2 separate regions of the Homo sapiens genome follow, and region 1 is linked to region 2. Evidence: promoter capture Hi-C in 16 types of primary human blood cells and fetal thymus (Javierre and others, 2016). All regions are on one chromosome and are shown on one strand. The core of a region is centred on a gene start or on the middle of the fragment in contact, and the rest is flanking DNA. Distances in the headings are between cores, read along the strand shown.

Evidence for each region. Contacts are between HindIII fragments. The CHiCAGO score rates a contact against its expected background, and 5 or more counts as called.
Region 1: a contact is called between the fragment with the promoter of EIF1 here and a fragment that was not itself captured in region 2, in 3 of 17 cell types (total CD4 T cells, non-activated CD4 T cells and naive CD4 T cells). The highest score is 5.5, in total CD4 T cells.

Annotation. Positions count from the first base shown.
Region 1 is chr17:41,687,056-41,691,041 of GRCh38, forward strand. EIF1 (eukaryotic translation initiation factor 1) reads left to right here and starts at 1,830. Exons shown (of 4, transcript NM_005801.4): 1 at 1,830-2,014; 2 at 2,723-2,886; 3 at 3,033-3,134; 4 at 3,727-3,986. The coding sequence starts at 1,984. The coding sequence ends at 3,771. RefSeq lists enhancers at 1,531-2,439, 2,425-2,514, 2,440-3,348 and a silencer at 1,655-2,044. The HindIII fragment of the contact is 2,180 bases long and covers 1,610-3,789 here.
Region 2 is chr17:40,852,279-40,856,116 of GRCh38, forward strand. All of the region lies in intron 1 of LOC105371777 (a long non-coding RNA gene), which reads left to right. Among named protein-coding and RNA genes, the nearest start is that of KRT12, 13 kb to the right of the region's middle. The HindIII fragment of the contact is 1,416 bases long and covers 988-2,403 here.

The DNA of each region.
Region 1 (3,986 bases), core at 580-3,079, 830 kb after region 2:
TCCTTTTTTTTTTTTTTTTGAGACATAGTCTTGCTCTGTCGCCCAGGCTGGAGTGCAATGGCGCCATCTTGGCTCACTGCAGTCTCCTCTTCCCGGGTTCAAATAATTATTGTGCCTCGGCCTCCCGAGTAGCTGGGACTACAGGCACACGCCACCACGCCCAGCTAATTTTTGTATTTTTAGTAGAGACAGGGTTTCACCATATTGGCCAGGCTGGTCTCGAACTCCTGACCTCGGGTGATCCGCCCACCTCAGCCTCCCAAAGTGCTGGGATTACAGGCATAAGCCACAGCGCCCAGCCTCATTATCTTATTATTTGTTTAGTGGCTCTCTCTCCCGCTGGCCTTCAACTCCACAAGGGCAGTGACCCTGACTGTCAGGGACATAAACCAGCAGTCCATGGGCATGCATATTTTTGTTTGGCTTGCAGTGTTGTATCAAAAATTCAATTTATTCCTGTAATCCCAGCACTTTGGAAGGCCGAGGCAGGCAGATCACCTGAGGTCAGGAGTTCAAGACCAGCCTGGCCAACATGGTGAAAACCCATCTCTACTAAAAATATTTTTAAAAAACTAGCCGGGCGTGGTGGTGGATGCCTGTAACCCCAACTACTCGGGAGGCTGAGGCAGAAGAATTGCTTGAACCCAGGAGACGGAGGTTACAGTGAGCCGACACAGTGCCACTGCACTCCAGCCTCGGCGACAAAGTGAGACTCTGTCTCAAAAAAAAAATCAATTTATTGGCAATATTTAAAAATCAAGAGATTTTATGTAAACACCTGGATTTCCTGGCACTCTTGAAAAAGATCTAGCACAATGGGCTGGAGGTGAGCGGCCACTGCAGCCCGTAGTTCTTACTCCAGCCCCCAGTCCACCCCATTACATCACACTTGGCTGTTTGCACTCCTTGATCCTACTTACCTGCCTATCCCCGGAGGCCTTTGAGTCTAAAATTCCTGGTCTCTTTTCACCACTCTACTTACCCCTACAACTGAGTGTTGAAATAAATAAACTGAAAGCAAGAAAGGTTGACTGTTTTGAAGGAAATATTTCATCTAAACTCTAGGAAGGCTCTACTCCACACAAGCTGTGCCACATGAAGGACGCCCTCTGGTGCCAGAATTATTCTCGGGGGGGCCCAGAACCAGTTACTATACCTTGAACTCATGCCAATGAGCTGGGCACACTTTTTCCTTAGATGGATTAATCTAATCTAAATGAAAATTTTAGATCGGATTAACCCACTTTAGAATAAATCTAAATGGCAATCTAAATTATGCGGTTACCGTTTTGATTATATTATTGTATGTTGATTAATCAAAGTGCCGCCCTAAATCCCGCTGTGACTCCGTGGGTAGTAGGGTGGGTAGGTAGGTGGGTTTGACACAACGGGGATTTCTCGTGTTTGGGAGGCTCATCATCTAAATCCTCTCTAAGGAGTGTTCATTTACCATATGAAACTCCCCTTTTCGAGAAGACAGGGATGCAACAGGGTCAAGAAGGTGGAACGTACCAAAGGACACAGTGCGTAGGCGCGCTCGAAACCTGGGCCGGTATTCTCGGCACCCAGACACCGTCCACTCGCACTGCGCAGGCTCCGAGACAGATCAAGCTTTCCCTCCCCCTCCCAGCTCTCCTAGAGTCAAGAGGACGCCCTCCTGCCGCAGACTTCCTGCGCAAGCGCCATCCCATGTCCCCGCCTCCAAACCAATTGGAAGCGGCGCCGCCTGGGCGCTTGGGGCACGACGCTGTGGGTGGGGTCAGGACGTGAGGGCAGCGCGCTGGCGTCAGAGGCGCGGCTATATAACTAAACACAGGCACCGCCCCTCTGCCCCAGTCACTGAGCCGCCGCCGAGGATTCAGCAGCCTCCCCCTTGAGCCCCCTCGCTTCCCGACGTTCCGTTCCCCCCTGCCCGCCTTCTCCCGCCACCGCCGCCGCCGCCTTCCGCAGGCCGTTTCCACCGAGGAAAAGGAATCGTATCGTATGTCCGCTATCCAGAACCTCCACTCTTTCGGTAAGCTATGGGAAAGGTCGCGGGCCCGGGTGGGGCAGCGGGGCCTTCCGGGCCCGGAGACGTGTTCCGGGAAGTTGCCAAGCGCTCCGGGCCTTCGTAAGCTCGGGCAGGGGAAACTTGACCAGGGTCGCAGGGCAGCGGGATCAAGGCCTGGGCCCCGGGGTCGGACCCTGAGCGCGACCGGAAGGAGCAGGCGGTAGGTCAGCCCTTGGGCGGGCCCGGCGTCTCAGTGGCGCATTTACTAATGGCTCCTGGGCCTCCTCGGGCCACACCCGCCCCTCCCGTCACCATTGCGTCACGTCCGTTACGTCACCACCCGTTGTCACGGATCCGGAGGGAAAGGCGGTGCCAGCCCTAAGTGGCAAGCGGGTGCACCAATGGGGGTGGGAGGCTTAGCCCCGCCTCGGGAGCTCGGGTTCCGGCGGGTTGCATCAGCTGGGTGGGGCACCGCCTGGCAGCCCGGACTCCCCCGACATGTGATCGGCTTCCCAGGGAGGGCGGGAGGCCCGGGCGTTCCCCGAGCCTGGGGAAGCTGGCCGTCCCGGACTGACCTGCTCGGGGAGAGCCAGCAAAGGACACATTCGGCCTGGCCCAAGCCCTGACGATTTCAGTGTTGTTTTCTGCACGCGCAAAACACCTGGGGACCGAGGGGATGGCAGTGGCATCCTATCTTTGACAGCTCTGAACGAGCTTAACCTTTTTTTTCAGACCCCTTTGCTGATGCAAGTAAGGGTGATGACCTGCTTCCTGCTGGCACTGAGGATTATATCCATATAAGAATTCAACAGAGAAACGGCAGGAAGACCCTTACTACTGTCCAAGGGATCGCTGATGATTACGATAAAAAGAAACTAGTGAAGGCGTTTAAGAAAGTAGGTCTTCAGTGAGATTTTGGGAAAGTCATAATGGATTTGTCCACAAGGGGGTGCCAGCTGTGTTGTATGTATTGTTAGCGGAAGGGGTGATAAATGCGTTCATGCTCTTGCTAGGCCTAATTCGTTTTCCTTTGTGCTTGCAGAAGTTTGCCTGCAATGGTACTGTAATTGAGCATCCGGAATATGGAGAAGTAATTCAGCTACAGGGTGACCAACGCAAGAACATATGCCAGTTCCTCGTAGAGGTGAGTTCAGTCACTACTTGATTTGTGCCTCTCTGCTGGCAAATCTCAGATCCTGTCTGTTAGCTTCTGCTGGGGACATAAAAGTTGGCTTTGTAAGGCTGAGCAAAACCTCAGTTGGGTTTTAAAGTACATAGACTTATTTCTGTTTTATAGGAAAAAGCAGAAGGGACTTGTCTACCTTTGGTTTACTGTTTCTGTGGATCTACTTCACAGATGCAAATTTGAATAGCATATAGATGCATTGTAAAATAAGCCAAATGCTGGGTTGTTCCTGTATTTGTAAGGACATGAGTTTTTAAAAATGAATTTCCTGAGTATTAATACTAAAATACTGTTACATGATCAGCTCTTGATATAATTGAAGAGATTTCAGATACCTGATGAGTCTCATTCTCACACTAATTCAGAACCTTGGAAGGCACTGAGTGTTCAAAAAAGGTAGCTCTTAACTGAGGACCCTCTGTTGAACCATTGTGCGCACCCCTGGCTCTTGGGCAGTGTAGTAGCAGGAAGACAGGGTTGTTGCCATTAGAAATGGAGGCTTTAACTCTCCCTGTCCCCCATTTAAAACTTTGCCCTTTTGTCTTTTCAGATTGGACTGGCTAAGGACGATCAGCTGAAGGTTCATGGGTTTTAAGTGCTTGTGGCTCACTGAAGCTTAAGTGAGGATTTCCTTGCAATGAGTAGAATTTCCCTTCTCTCCCTTGTCACAGGTTTAAAAACCTCACAGCTTGTATAATGTAACCATTTGGGGTCCGCTTTTAACTTGGACTAGTGTAACTCCTTCATGCAATAAACTGAAAAGAGCCATGCTGTCTAGTCTTGAAGTCCCTCATTTAAACAGAGGTCAAG
Region 2 (3,838 bases), core at 446-2,945:
ATGTGTATAGCAAGTGTTTTATGATACATATTCTACATGTTGGGAATGTAGTTTTATATGATTAAGTTTTCAGAGTGCCAATGCTTTGGAAAGTGCAGCTAAAAAGTCTCCCTGTGGACAAATTGGCAAATAATTGTGTAACCTGCTACTTCAGCTTTGTGTCTTTGGTGTTATAATATTATATTGTCCTTTAGCTCCTCAGAAATGATCTCCTCTTTAATGCAACTGTTACCTGTGTACCCTGGAGGTGACAGATAATCATGATAATGATGACTAAAACTTTCATCAGGTTCTCCTCCCTACTGAGACCTTCCTTTCCCTTGAGCAGTTCTTGTCTTCCCACTGGCCAGCGTTCAGTTCTATCTCCTTCAGCTCTGCAAGCTGTAAAAACACCTTCCATAGTCACACAGGGGAACTGAGTAAAATTCTCCTAACTTCACATCACCTGAAGGACTTTTTCTTACCCCTAGCCTCTGAGTAATAACACTGAGAAGGACTTCATTGTTGTGCTTTCCTATAACACCACTGCTGGATTCTGATTAGCCTGGATCTAATTCTGTAGTACTAATTTTTGTTCCAGGATTATCTCTATTGGATGCTGATTATATATATTTGTATTTTTTAAATGATAAACATTTATTTTATTATTTGTCAGCCTACTCAGTCATATATTAGATAGGCTAGGGAAGTTTAACATTAAAATTATCATCCAGAATCAGCACATAAGGCTGTTTAAAATGGGTATCCAGTGAAAACACCGTAAAGCACCTTGGGAGGTACTTTTTATCCAATGTAAATTGTAATATACAATGTAAAAACTGTATGAAACTTTATCATGTATTTGCCTTTAGATCATAAAAACTGAGGTTATTTTCAATAGACTATGTAGAGTCTTACATATAGTTGGTGCTAAATAAAAGCTTGTTGAAGGAATTGAAGCCATCCTCACAGAATTAAGAATTCTGGGCAGAAATGTAGTTATAATTAAGCTTTAACCAGGCTGCACTTTGACCCACTTCCTTGTAACTAAACATCACATAACCTTAGATTCTGACCATTTGCATCCCCATTGTTCCTGTAGATAGAAATTCTAATGTTAGAACCATGAGGCTTTTGTTTAAGAATTGCTTAAACGGATCCTGAATTACTGTGGAACTGCTAACGCCAACCAATTTAAAGACTCCCACAGACAAACCAAATGAGCATGAGAGTACAGTTTCTTTCTCTCCCTGTCCTGGGACTTCACCCTGTACTCTTCAACTAATCAACAATCTCTATGCTTTGGCTCACTCCAAAACTCTTAAAAACCCTCGCCCCAGAGTCCCCGGGAAGATGGATTTGGGGTTTTCTCTTTTCTCCTCATTTGTTGGCCTTACCATTAAACCTCTGTCTCTGTTGCAACCTGGTGCCTCTGGGTATTGACTTGCTGTGAACATCCAGGCAATGAACCTATTACAGCTACAGAATGAATACACAAATAAATGCATATGTGATGCCCCACTTGTATACATAAATAAGCCAGCGGAGAAAACCAAACACCACATGTTCTCACTCATAAATGGAAGTTGAACAATGAGAACATGTGGACACAGGGAGGGGAGCATCACACACCGGGGCCTGTCGGGGAGTGAGGGACTAGGGGAGGGATAACATTAAGGAGAAATACCTAATGTAGATGATGGGTTGATGGGTGCAGCAAACCACCATGGCACGTGTATGCCTATGTTACAAATCTGCACGTTCTGCACATGTATCTCAGAACTTAAAGTATAATAATAAAAAATAAAAATTACACTGCAACTTGTCAAAAAAGTTATACTTGTTGCTCTGTTTATTTGAAACGTGAAATTGCAGCCTGACGTGATTTCTTTAAAATCCCATGTTACTTGCAAATAAATGAAATATTTCAAAATGAGTACACTTAGCAGAAACTTAGTAGTGTATGTATAACTTCAGGAGATCAATAAGTGCAAGTCAGTAACTAAAATGACCATATTCTTACCAACCAAGGTCATAGCGTCGTGTGTTTACGGTGTTTTTAAAGATTTCAAAATGCCGGGCTAATGTGATTATATGTGATATTATTGTTGTCTTTTTGTACAAAGTGAGTCATCTCAAGTTGAGTAACTTGTTCTGAGTAAGATAATGACTCACTGAGAAAGCCTGAAATACCATCTAAATGGCTTCTATTAGAGCCCACTGCTGTCTGTGGACTGTTTTATCAGTGTGATTTATTTACAGGTCTGCTTCTAAATTGCGTATTTGTTCCATCATTTTGAAGAAGAGTTGCATTTCATTAAGAATATGTACATAGTGAAAAAACAATGACATATTTTAGCAACTAGAATTCGCAATGAATTTAATTCTAAAGAAGAGTAGTATGCAGAATTTTTTTCCTGAAAAAGCTTGATGCTCATGTTTTTACAGTCTATAAAGTTAAAATATCTATTCTGAGTTTTGCAAACAATTTATTGCATGTGTGTAAAGCATTGCATTTATTTATAATTCTGCTATATTATGCTAATTTAAGAAATAAACCCTAAAATCATGCATGACAATTCCCAAGAATGCTAAGCTTTTTTTGAGACGGAGTCTCACTCTGTCGCCCAGGCTGGAATGCAGTGGTGCGATCTCAGCTCACTGCAAGCTCTGCCTCCCGGGTTCACACCATTCTCCCGCCTCAGCCTCCCAAGTAGCTGGGACTACAGGTGCCCGCCACCACGCCCGGATAATTTTCTGTATTTTTAGTAGAGACAGGGTTTCTCTGTGTTAGCCAGGATGGTCTCAATCTCCTGACCTCATGATCTGCCCGCTTCGGCCTCCCAAAGTTCTGGGATTATAGGCGTGAGCCACTGCTCCCAGCCCCAGTTTTTCTTAATTTATTTTATATACTCTGTATTTAGTTGTAGAATCCTCCCCTTCAATTTGAGCAGCTACATTAATATTAGCATTTTAGACAGGCACCGTGGTTTGCACCTTTCATCAGGCATCTGACATTTGACTAAAATGGCAGTAGTCTGAGGTGGGAGGATCACTTGAGCCCAGGAATTTGAGGCTGCAGTGAGCTATGAGCACACCATTGCACTACAGCCTGGGTGACAGAGAGCGACCCCATCTCTGAAGAAAGCACATCTTATAGTTTCAAAGTGCTTTATGGCTTGTTAAGCTCCTTCACAGAAGTTGGCTTATTTGATGCTCACAACTTGTGATAGAGGGAAGATAAATATTATTCCCCCCTCCCCATATGTTGGGTGAGAAAAGTGCACTTTTTTTTTTTACAAAAGTGGAATAATTTAGGATTGTGCATGAAGGGAAGAAAAAGAATAAATATGTCTGGGGGAAATATGTAAACCAGTTCATTTCTTTAGTTGTAGAGAGACTTTTTTTCTTTGCATAATAATAGCAGGTAATATTTAGTGCTTACTATATGCCAAGTGTGAATTGACCCATAGAATTCTCATAATAGGGCGTGAAGCAGGTATCCTTTTTTGCCTTGATTTTAGGGAACAGAGAACTATGGAACAGAGAGGTAAGTAAAACCATTAGAAAGTGCCAGAGCTGGGACCCAAACTCAGGCCTTTGAACTGTGCTTTTAACCTCTATGCTCAGTGGTGTACTGGTGTAAAACAGTTTTCTGGGAAATACATTTTAAAAGCCCAAGTTCCATTTGTGTAAATACTCCCATCATGGCCAATTTCAAGCTGCCCATGGTTTAATAGCCAGCTTGGAAAATTCCTGAATATTTACTGATCAGTGATTAAGAGCCAGCTTGCCCTAGGACACCTTTGACGATCCTACATGGCCTCTCTGCGCCTGTGGACAGTATCATCTGAAGAAA